Regions from separate parts of the Homo sapiens genome. Here regions 2 and 3 are each linked to region 1. Evidence: promoter capture Hi-C in human tissues and cell types (Jung and others, 2019). All regions are on one chromosome and are shown on one strand. The core of a region is centred on a gene start or on the middle of the fragment in contact, and the rest is flanking DNA. Distances in the headings are between cores, read along the strand shown. Region 1 holds the start of NBAS (NBAS subunit of NRZ tethering complex). Region 2 has its middle 450 kb from the start of LRATD1. Region 3 has its middle 440 kb from the start of NBAS.

Region 1 (3,459 bases), core at 719-3,218:
GGAGACAATGTGTAAAAGATTTTCTGGGAAGTCTGTCATTTATTCAACAAATAATATATATTTTGTCCTCTGCTCTATGCCAGGCACTGTTATAAATTCTGGGGATATAGCAGGGATGGATATAGCATTTGCATGCATATAGATAGAGCACCTGGCATGGCTTACCTTTTAGTGAATGGAGACAGATAATAAGCAAATATACTGTATAGCCATTTAAGTGATGACAAGTGTAATGGAAAAAATAATAGAGCAGCTCTGGAAAGCTGGAGTTGGAGAATGGTCATTGCAAATTTAAAAATGAGCAGTCAAGGTAGGCTTCAGAGAGAGACGACATTTGAGCAAAAACTTGAAGGAGATAAGGGAGGAACCAGGTAAACATCTGGTAGAAAGCCTTCCAAGTGGAGGGGACAGGCTTTGCAGAACTCCTGAAGTTGATGTGTGTCTGGTGTGTTCAGAAATAGAGCCAGTGTGGCTGAAGGTAGTAGGGGGAGCAGGAAATGAGGTGTGAGATTTAGGGGAGCAGGCAGATGACGTAGGGCTTTGAGGTCATTAAACTTTGAGAGAAATGGGAGCTGGTTAGAGGCTTCCCAGCAGAGGCTTTTAATTGCATCACCGCCTAATGCATCTTGATGGATATCATGAATATAATTATCTCAAGGGATATTCAGTATTTGTGTTTCTTTTGATGTGAAACAGTGTAATACTTTGTACAGTATATATTCATTCATGTTACAGTAGGCTCTGCTTATAACTGTCCACAAAGAGGTATTTGTTGAATGAATGAATGAATGAACAAATGGGGTTGACCTTTTCGCTCCCTCCATGCGGGTTCTCAACCTATTATTTCAACTTTATTGCCCCTACACCCTTTCTCAACTTGGGTTCTATTCACCCGTCTTGTTGAGTACTAATTAGGAAAAAAAAAAAGGCAGGCTAGTGGGAGCAGGGAAAAACAAAGAGATAAGGCAAATTAGCTATACGTCTGTCTTTCTTCATGGTCCAAAACATATAAACAAAAGGAAGAAACAAATAAGCCATAGGTCTACTTTTCTTTATGGCCCAGGACATATGGCCCTTCTACCCAGATAACGTACTTAACTCACAAACTTCCTGCTTACCTTCAAATGCCTCAATTTCTGAAACACTTCAGCTGACAAAAAAAAAAAAAAAAAAAGAAAGAAAGAAAAAAAAAAAGCAAGTTAACTCCCTGCTACCTGGTGTTATCAATCACTCCAAGTTCCAGTCTATAAAATTCTCAACAAGCCTTTGTTTCCTAGCAATGAGCTCCTCCTCTGCTGAGTCGGCCCGCTGCTCCCTGGCAACGAACTTTCATACTTTCTTTAATCTGTCTTTCTTTATCTACCACTGTCTTGGTAAATTCTTTTACTCCCACACTGAGAAAGTCGTCACTCACTGGCGACACGTTGAAAGAGTTCTTTCAACTCTGTATTTCTGCCTCTGTCTCTGCTCATTCCATTTCCCGCTACTTGAAATGCTTCTCCAGTAGATTAAAATTCTGCCTATTGTTAAAGACGCAGGGACAAGCTCCACGTCCTCCAGGAAATCCCTGCAGACTCTGGCCTTCGTTGCCTTTTCTGAGCTCCTGTAGCATCCTTCCTCTGCTACCTTTCATTGGATAACTTTAGTTGTTTATTTTAAAACCACTGTTTGAACTCTCTCTACGTGTTAGGCAAAGAATATACAAATGAACATTAGCATTTCAGTGGGGTACCTTTACCATTTCTGTTTTATGGAAACTGAGTTATAAGAGAGGCTCAATGACTTGGCCGATCTCATGTAGATTAATGAACAAGGAGTGTATCAGGACCGGGACACAAGTCGTTCCCAAGACAAGCAATAGTCCCTGTCCTTCCTACTCATAAAAGGGTTAACCTAGCATTTCCTTGCCGTGAAACAAAAGCGGCCGCGGATAGAGAAGCTTGTCCTGTGAGGGATTCCGTAGAGACACTCCTCCGCTGCCTGAGTCCTCGGCGAACATGGCGGCCCCCGAGTCAGGGCCGGCTTTGAGTCCAGGCACTGCAGAGGGTGAGGAGGAGACGATTCTCTATGACTTGTTGGTCAACACCGAGTGGCCACCGGAGACTGAAGTACAGGTGAACCAGGCCCATCTACAGCAGCAGCCAGCTTGGCGCGGGCGCTTCGTGGGTAGAGCCACGTAGCAGGAGCCACGTAGGGGAGTGGAGACGGGTGGGTGGGGGACTAGGGCCGGTTGGCTTGTGCGGTCGCCTTGGCAACGGCACCTTGGGCTAGCGGGGGTCTAGGGCGGGGTGGGGTGGTGGTCCCTGAGATTCTTCCTGGGCTCAGAATTCGGTTGTTGGGGGCTGGAACTTCGTGCTCTGGGGAGCGTACGATCCCACTTTGGTTCTCAGTTTCGCTCTCTGTATTGGGAGGAGAGGGGATTGTTAGTGTCGCTCTCTGTATTAGGAGGGGAAGGCACAGCGCTGGACTCGAGGGTCCTTTCTCCTATCTGGACCCTCAGTGGTCCCTTCTCGCGGTCTGGCTAGGGCTAGTCTGGGCCGACGCTCAACTGCGATGGGAGAATTTTCCAGGACCTTACAGTCTGCAGCATCTGCCAGGCTGGTGCAGAGCGCAGAATCTGAGCCTTTACCCATACTGGGGGCTGGATCGCGCCAGGTCTTGTGTGTTTCAATAAAAGAGCATTTAATAAGGGTGTGCGTGTCCGTTCGTCTGTCTCGGTGTCACAGGTGCTGTGCTAGGTGCTAAGGATACAGAGATGAATATGTTTTCGTGGAGCTTCTCGTCTAGAGGGGAGACAGTCCCGTAAACGTTTTTCATAACCTAGCGTTTTATGCGCTATAGTTAGCGATGTGAGCAAAATGCCACGGAAGTGCAGAGTAAAGAGCTGCTGACTGGGATTGGGATCTCCGCTACAGAAGGGTTATAGAGGTTGATAATTTATGGACTGGATCTTGGGATTATCAGTTGTTTGGTAGTGAAGGCCTCCCGGGTCTGTGATGAAGAGTAGGAACCATGGATCCATGTTTATTTTATTTTATTTTTTATTATTATTATTTTTTGGATCCATGTTTATTTAACAGATATTTATTGAGTGCTTAACACGTGCCAGTTACTGTTTTAGACCCAGAGGAAGCAGCCAGATCGAAAAGAACCTTTATTAAAGATTATGTAGTCCAGCCCATGTGAGTTATCTTACATTTTTTCTGAGTGTTTCTTTGCTGGAGAAACGACTCATTTTTCAGCCCAAAGTTTGTATTTTTTTCCTCTGTAGCCTCCTTCCCACTGCAGTTTGTGCTTATCATGAATAATTTATTTTGTAGACGGGTAGAGATCTGCATATATTACTGTTTAATTTCAAGTACTTAGTTTGTCTTAATGTGAATATTTTTTGGGTTATGCAGCTAGGAAGCTGTTGCTGAGGCAGCTGGTTAGATAAGTTTCCACTCCTTAACACTCATT
Region 2 (3,459 bases), core at 580-3,079, 480 kb after region 1:
TGTGATTTTGTTGTGATAATTGAAAAGGATTTGATGATTCTGTATATTATGTTGGTACAAGCAGGCTTTACCTGTAAGAAACATCTGTTCTTTCTGGATGACAACATTATTCTGAGATGGAATAAAAATGCAGAAGAGGGCAGATAATTTCATCCCACAACAATTTTCAGTTTTAGAATGGTTTTGCAAATGGTGCTGAAGGAGGTACCTATTCCATGTGGAATAGACTAGGACATTTTGTTCCTTCTGAACAAACCTGGGGAGAAAAAGAAAGAAAATCCAAGTTTTATTTTAAAAGCATTAAAAGGCTGCTGCTGTGTACTCAGTCACAGCTTTGGGCACCCACATGGCTACACACTGTGGAGATGGAGAGGGAAGAAGGCAGGCTTTGCCTGGTGGGCAGATGATTTAGTTCAGGAGCACTGTTGCGAAAGTGGAAACCCACTCAGCTCAGCTCCAGGATAATGGGGTATTGAAGGAAAGCACAGTCCAGCCAGGTACCCAGGGGTGGGAGAGGGGTACTGGGCAAGTTGCTGTCCCTCCACTTAAGATGAGCTCCATGGTGTCCCACACTTTTGCTCCATCCTGCACATAGCTGCTTTCCTCCTAATTAACTGCCAGGCCCACTACAGGGAGACTCATGCAAATGGAAATATTCCAAAGGATGAATAACCCCCCAAAACATGGTGGGGGGGAATTGCCCATTAACTTTCTGTGTAGCTTCAGTTATATCCAGTGTCCCATCTTCAACTTTTACACAAAGCTGGGTTTGAGCCCTGGCTCTACTACATGTCAGCTGACTGTGGGCATGTCTTGTGACTCCTCAAAGTCTCAGTTCCCTCTTCGGTAAACTGGAGACCATGGCTCCCAACACAGATACCAGGAGGAGTAAATGGGAGAATGCATGCCATGTGCTTTGGCAGTACCTAGGAAAAGATAGTTCTTATGATCTTTGTAGCTCTCTAAGTTTGGGGAAGTGAGCTGTTGGGTCCAGGGTGCTGGCTGGGCAGGCTGATGCAAACCCTGCCTCCTTGGGGGCTCTGGGAATGATTCTGTAGGGCTGTTTGCTCAGGGAATCTGGTAAAGGAGGGAGCAAGAGAGAGAATGTAAGAGCATAACCAAGTAGGAGTGCTGGGAGCCAAACTGGGTCAGGAGCTGGGGTGCAGCATGGAGCCGAATTAAAGGCCCAGAGAGAGTGAAAGTGACCTTCCAGCTCTGATATTTGTGAGTCTAGATGGTCTGCTGTCACGTGACTCAGAACATGAAATGAGCAAGTGATGTTAGAGGAGTCGTTAGGGTAGAGACCACATCTTTCCTCTTCACTGCTGCATCCCTGGCTCCTGGCACAATGCTCAGCTCATTATAGTGACTCCATAAACACCTGTTGAATACATGAATTCATGGATGAATGACATGGGCATTGTGAGAGTAAACTAACTGGGGCATAAGTAAGGAGCTGTGTAACGTGGAGTCATGGGTGTTACAAGGTCCTGGGCATGACAGGGTACTCATGCACAAAACCAGGTAAATTGGTCCAATAATACCACCACCACCAATACCACCATCCTTATCTTATTAATAGCTACCATTTTTACACACATTTTTGTTGGGGAGCAGAGTCTGTTTTAAGTTGTCTTGCTTTATTTAATTATTACAATTTCCCTGGTAGATAGATATCATTATTCTCATTTCACAGATGTGGAAACTGAGGCCAAAAGATTAAACACCTTTCTGAGGGTGACATAGTCAGTGAGTGGAAAAGTTGTGATTCTAACCCACATGTGCCTGACTCCAGCCAATGTTATAATGTCTGCCAAATATGCACCCTCTCTTTGTGGACCAAAAGGCCATCCTTCCAGGCAGCAGCCAAAGTGTCAAACAACTGGGGCTGTGTGATCCATCTAATCTGAGTCACACCTGGGTTGACCAGCGAACTAAGGGCAGTCATCTTACAGGCTCTGGGTTTAAGAGGGAGAGACCCCTGACCATAATTACACACGATAGGGAAGAGGGAGAGGTTCCTGGGACGCTGGGGCATCTCTTTCTAGTGAAAAAAGTCTGGAGAAGGATGTGGCTGCCTTGTGAGCAGCTCTTTCCAGAATGGTATTCTTGCGCAATGCCTTTGGATGAAGAGGTCGTGGGCATTGGGATAGCCAGTGGACTGTTGACTGTTGAGTTGGAGGCTCTGGCTGGATACACTGGACTGTTCTTATAAAATCATAGTAAGTAAATGTATAAGTATGGTATATGAGACATCTCTATATTTATATCTAGGTGGAGGATCTCATGAAGAGTGAGGAGATCCATAAACGACCTGAGTTTAGTTTCTCCTGAGCACACCGTCTTGGGCATACCTCCTTGGAGTTGCCTCCTGAAACCCCCAGAAGTAGCTTAGGGAGACTTATAGTGAAGAGTGAGGAGTTAACAATGATATGGGTAGGGATAGCACCAAGTCAAAATCCTAAATTAAAGTTAATAGGACCCCATTGCAACCTTCAGTCTGGTGAGACCAGGGATTGTTTGGGTCACAAGGAAAAAGGTTTTTGCTTTGCTTGAGCCAGAGGTAACTGGTTGATTGAGGGATCTTGGGCATATGTGTGAGAAGACCACCAAGAGACAGAAATAATTCAGGAAAAAGAGTCAGCTGCCTCTGCATGGTGGCCCGTTTTTATCTAGAGGTTGAAAAGCGGCTGTAAATTCCTTGGCAGCTGTCCATCAAGGGCTGGGTTTGTTTCTCAACCATTTGGATAAGGGTGGGCTTTGTGACCAACAGAAGAATGTTTGGAAGGGATGCTGTTATGGCTCCTAAGAAATTGAAAGCTTGTACTTCCCGGATATTTGAATTTTCTTTCTGAGAGCTCCATCCCCCCAGGTGGAAGTGTGACTATCCTGAAACTGTCATGCTGAAAGGTCACAGGTGGACTCCTCAGTCCAACAGTTCAGCTGAGCCCAAGCTTCCAGCCACCCCCACCAGGGTGCCAGACATGGGAGTGAAGCTGTCGGGTCTTCTGAACTAACCCATCCACCAGCTGAATTTCCCTGAGTGATTTCAGTTGATGGCTTATGAAGCAGAAAACTTACCCAGCTGAGCCTTGCTCAAGTTCTTGATCCATAAATTGTGAGATATAGTCAAATGGTTGTTTTTTAAAAAGTCACTGAGTTTTGGAGTGATTTGTTATTCAGTAATAGATAACCAGAATAATCATCTTTCAGCCCTCTTTCTTGCCCAGACTGGGGAGAGCTTCAAGTGTTGGTCAAACAAGGACAATGTTTCTGGAGAGATACAGGAGTATAACTGGCACGTGAAAGTATTTAGGGATGGCTGTGGCTCTGAAGTTGAATCTCTAGGACTGAGACCTTGTCTTCTTCAGTTCAGATTTAATACCTTATCTCTAGGTGCATGTGAACTCTTGGGCTTAAAGGGGCACAATTGACCATCATGATTCTGGAGTTCTGGAG
Region 3 (3,459 bases), core at 541-3,040, 440 kb after region 1:
AAAATTATTATACAGATGGAAAGGATTTTTCAATTAAATCTAAGTCAGTGAGATTTTAAGCAGCTAAGAGTTTGAGATGTGCTTCCTAGGGAGATTAGAACTTGGGTGAGCAAGGCCATGAGGCAGGACCTGCTACATAATTTGCAGTCCAGTGCAAAATGAAAACAACGGGCCCCTCTTTCAAAAATTGCATAGCATTAAACCAAGTGCAGGATCCTCTGAGCATGGGGCCGTCTGTGACTTCCTGGGCCACATATCTGTGAGGCTGGCCCTGCCCCCAGGGCATTCCGAGGCTTTAGAGGGACCAAGATGTAGTGGGAAAATCAAGGAGCTGTATGCTGAGCTAGACAAACCTCAGTCAATTCTCAGTTTTGTGTGTTACTGGTTGTTTGACCTTGGGCAGGTGAAGAAGGTACCTCTATTTCCTCCTTTGTGAAGTGGAGCTAAAAATATCAGTCCTATGGTGATATTGTAAAGATGAAATGAAATCAAGTTTGTAGCGTGCTTAGCAGAGTGTATGATATCTAGTAAGAGCTTTAAATCTTAGTGTTTCATAGCAGTGTTGCTGGTGCCCTGCCATGGCCACCTGTCCCTCCTTAGTACCTACCAACTGCCTTCCAAATGCTGCCACCTGCATTGCTAGGCTGATGGCTTTTCTCTTGCTGCTGACAGAGAAATAATTACCACCACTCTCCTTTGTCATCTTTCAGCCATGGGCTGAGGGAGTGTGGAGTATCAGTACCCCAGCTCCCTTGCCCCTCGGGTGAGGTACCTCTGATCTGTGTTTCTTACTGGGGATCTCAGAGTTTTCCCAGTGGTATTAAGCCTCATGCCCCCCTGAGAGGTAGCTGGCATGATAACACATTCCTTAGTGGCCACTTTCCCTTCCCTGTGTCTTCCCCATTCCTCTACCAGGGCTCCTGTATCAGTGTGTTTTCACATTGCTGTAAAGGAATACCCGAGGTTGGGTAATTTCTAAAGAAAATAACTTTCATTGGCTCACAGCTCTGCAAGCTGTACAACAAGCATGGTGCTGGCAACTGCTTTGGGTGAGGGCCTCAGGAAGCTTATAATCATGGAGGAAGGCCACAGGGAGCCAGCATGTCACATGGGGAGAGCAGGAGTGAGAAATAGAGAGAGGGGAGGTGCCACGCTCTTTTATACAACAAGATCTCACATAAACTCGGAGTGAGAACTCACTCGTCACCAAGGGAATGGTGCTAAGTCATTCATGAGGGATCTGCCATGAGAATCCAAAACACCTCCCACCAGGCTCTACCTCCAACACCGGAGATCACACTTCAACGTGAGATTTGAAGAAGACAAATATCCAAACCATATTATTCTGCCCCAGTCCCCCAAATCTCATGTCCTTCTCACATGGCAAAATACAATCATCCCTTCTCAATAGTCTCCCAGAGTATTATCTTGTTCCAGCATCAACTTAATCAAGAGCTCCAAGTTCCGAGTCCAAAGACTAAAGTCTCATCTGGAGATAAGTTCCTTTCACCTATGAGCCTGTGAAATCAAAACCAAATTACTTACTTCCAAGATACAATGGTGGTACAGGCATTGGGTAAACATTCCCATTCCAAAAGGGAGAAACTGGCCCAAAGAAAAAGTTAACAGGCCCAACCCAAGTCTGAAACGTAACAGGGTAGTCATTAAATCTTAAAGCTCCAAAATAATCTCCTTTGACTCCATGTCTCACATCCAGGGAACACCGGAGCAAGGATTAGTGATATGGTTTGGTTCTCTATCCCTGGCCAAATCTCATGTTCAGTTGTAATCCCCAGTCTTAGATAAGCCTGGTGGAAGATGACTAGATCATGGGAGTGGATCCCTCATGAATACTTTAGTACCATCCTCTTGGCACTGTCCTCGTGATAGTGAGTAAGTTCTTGTGAGATCTAGTCATTTAAAAGTGTATGACACCTCTCCCCTCTCTTCCTTGCCCTTGCTTTTTCTAGTGATGTGCCTGCTCCTGCTTCATCTTCTGCCATGATTGTAAGCTTCTTGAGGCCCCCCTAGAAGCTGATGCCAGAACTGTGCTTCTGGTATAGCCTGCAGAACTGTGAGCCAATTAAACTTCTTTTCTTTATAAATTACCCAGAATTAGGTATTTCTTTATAGCAGTGTGAGAACAGACTAATACAGGTGGGCTCCCAAGGCCTTGGGTGGCTCCATCCTGTGGCTTTGCAGTATATAGCCCATGTAGCTGCTCTAACAGGTTGGAGTTGAGTGCCTGCAGCTTTTCCATGCTGAGGTTGAAAGCTGCTGGGAGATCTATCATTCTTGGGTCTGGAGGATGGCAGCCCCCTTCCCATAGCCCCACTAGGCAGTGCTCCGGTGGGGACTCTGTGTGTGGGCTCCAACCCCACATTTCCCCTCAGCACTGCCATAGTAGAGTATCCCTGTGGGGGCTCCACCCCTGCATCAGGCTTCTACCTTGGCACTAAGGCTTTCTGATACGTCCTTTGAAATCTAGGTGGAAGCCGCTAAGCCTCCCTCATGCTTTGCATTCTGTGCACCCATAAGCTTAACCACTACATGGAAGATGCTAAGACTTATGACTGGAACCCTCCAGAGTCGCAGTCCAAGCTGTACCTGGGGCCCTTTGAGCTGCAGCTGGAGCTGGAGTAGCCAGGATGCAGCAAGTGTCCTGAGATTGAGCAGGAGAACGGGCCCTGGGCCTGCCCCCTGAAACCATTCTTTCCTCCTAGGCCTCTGGACTTGTGATGGGAGGAGCTGTGTTAGAAATCTCTGAAATATCTTTGAGATCTTTCTTCCCATTGTCTTGGATGTTAGGACTTGGCTCCCTTTGAGTCATGCTAATCTCTCTAGCAAGTGGTCGCTCTACAGCCTGCTTGGATTCTTTCTTTACCATAGGGCCAGGCTGTAAATTTTCCAAACTTGTATGCTCTCTTTCCCTTTTAAACATAAGTTCCAACTCTAAGTTATTCTTTTGCTCCCTCCTCTGATTGTAGGCTGTTAGAAGCAACTATTCCACTTCTTGAACACTTAGGACACAAGCCATAAGCCTTGCCAGCATCCATGTGGTGGTAAGCCTGTAGGGGCAGATTGCTGTCTAGAAATTTCTTCCACTGGGTACCATAAGTCATCACTCTCAAGTTCAGACTTCCACAAAGCCGTAGGACATGGAGACAATGCAGCCAAGCTCTTTGCTAGGGCATAACTAGGGTGAGCTTCCCTCCAGTTCCCAATAGCTTCCACATTTCTATCTGAGACCTTGTCAGCCTGGAATTCACCGTCCATATCTCTACCAGAATTTTGCTCACAATCACTTAACTGATCTCGAAGAAGTTCCAAGCTTTCCCTTGTCTTCCTGTCTTCTCTAAGCCTTCCAAACTCTTCTAGCCTCTGCCCATTACCAGTTCCAAAGCTGCTTCCACATTTTCAGGTGTCTTTACAGCAATGCCCTACTCTTCAATATTAATG

What was found. Contacts are between HindIII fragments. The study calls those that stand out against the background at their distance.
Region 2: a contact is called between a fragment that was not itself captured here and the fragment with the promoter of NBAS in region 1, in 2 of the 25 tissues and cell types used here (mesendoderm cells and thymus).
Region 3: a contact is called between a fragment that was not itself captured here and the fragment with the promoter of NBAS in region 1, in 2 of the 25 tissues and cell types used here (H1 embryonic stem cells and lymphoblastoid cells).

Annotation. Positions count from the first base shown.
Region 1 is chr2:15,559,843-15,563,301 of GRCh38, reverse strand. NBAS (NBAS subunit of NRZ tethering complex) reads left to right here and starts at 1,968. Exons shown (of 52, transcript NM_015909.4): 1 at 1,968-2,114. The coding sequence starts at 1,998. LOC105373440 (a long non-coding RNA gene) reads right to left here and starts at 1,154. Exons shown (of 4, transcript XR_001739297.2): 1 at 1,119-1,154. RefSeq lists an enhancer at 1,769-2,178. The HindIII fragment of the contact is 7,047 bases long and covers 1-3,459 here.
Region 2 is chr2:15,080,222-15,083,680 of GRCh38, reverse strand. It overlaps a transcript of NBAS not described here. Among named protein-coding and RNA genes, the nearest start is that of LRATD1, 450 kb to the right of the region's middle. The HindIII fragment of the contact is 3,780 bases long and covers 1-3,459 here.
Region 3 is chr2:15,123,863-15,127,321 of GRCh38, reverse strand. It overlaps a transcript of NBAS not described here. Among named protein-coding and RNA genes, the nearest start is that of NBAS, 440 kb to the left of the region's middle. The HindIII fragment of the contact is 4,483 bases long and covers 1-3,459 here.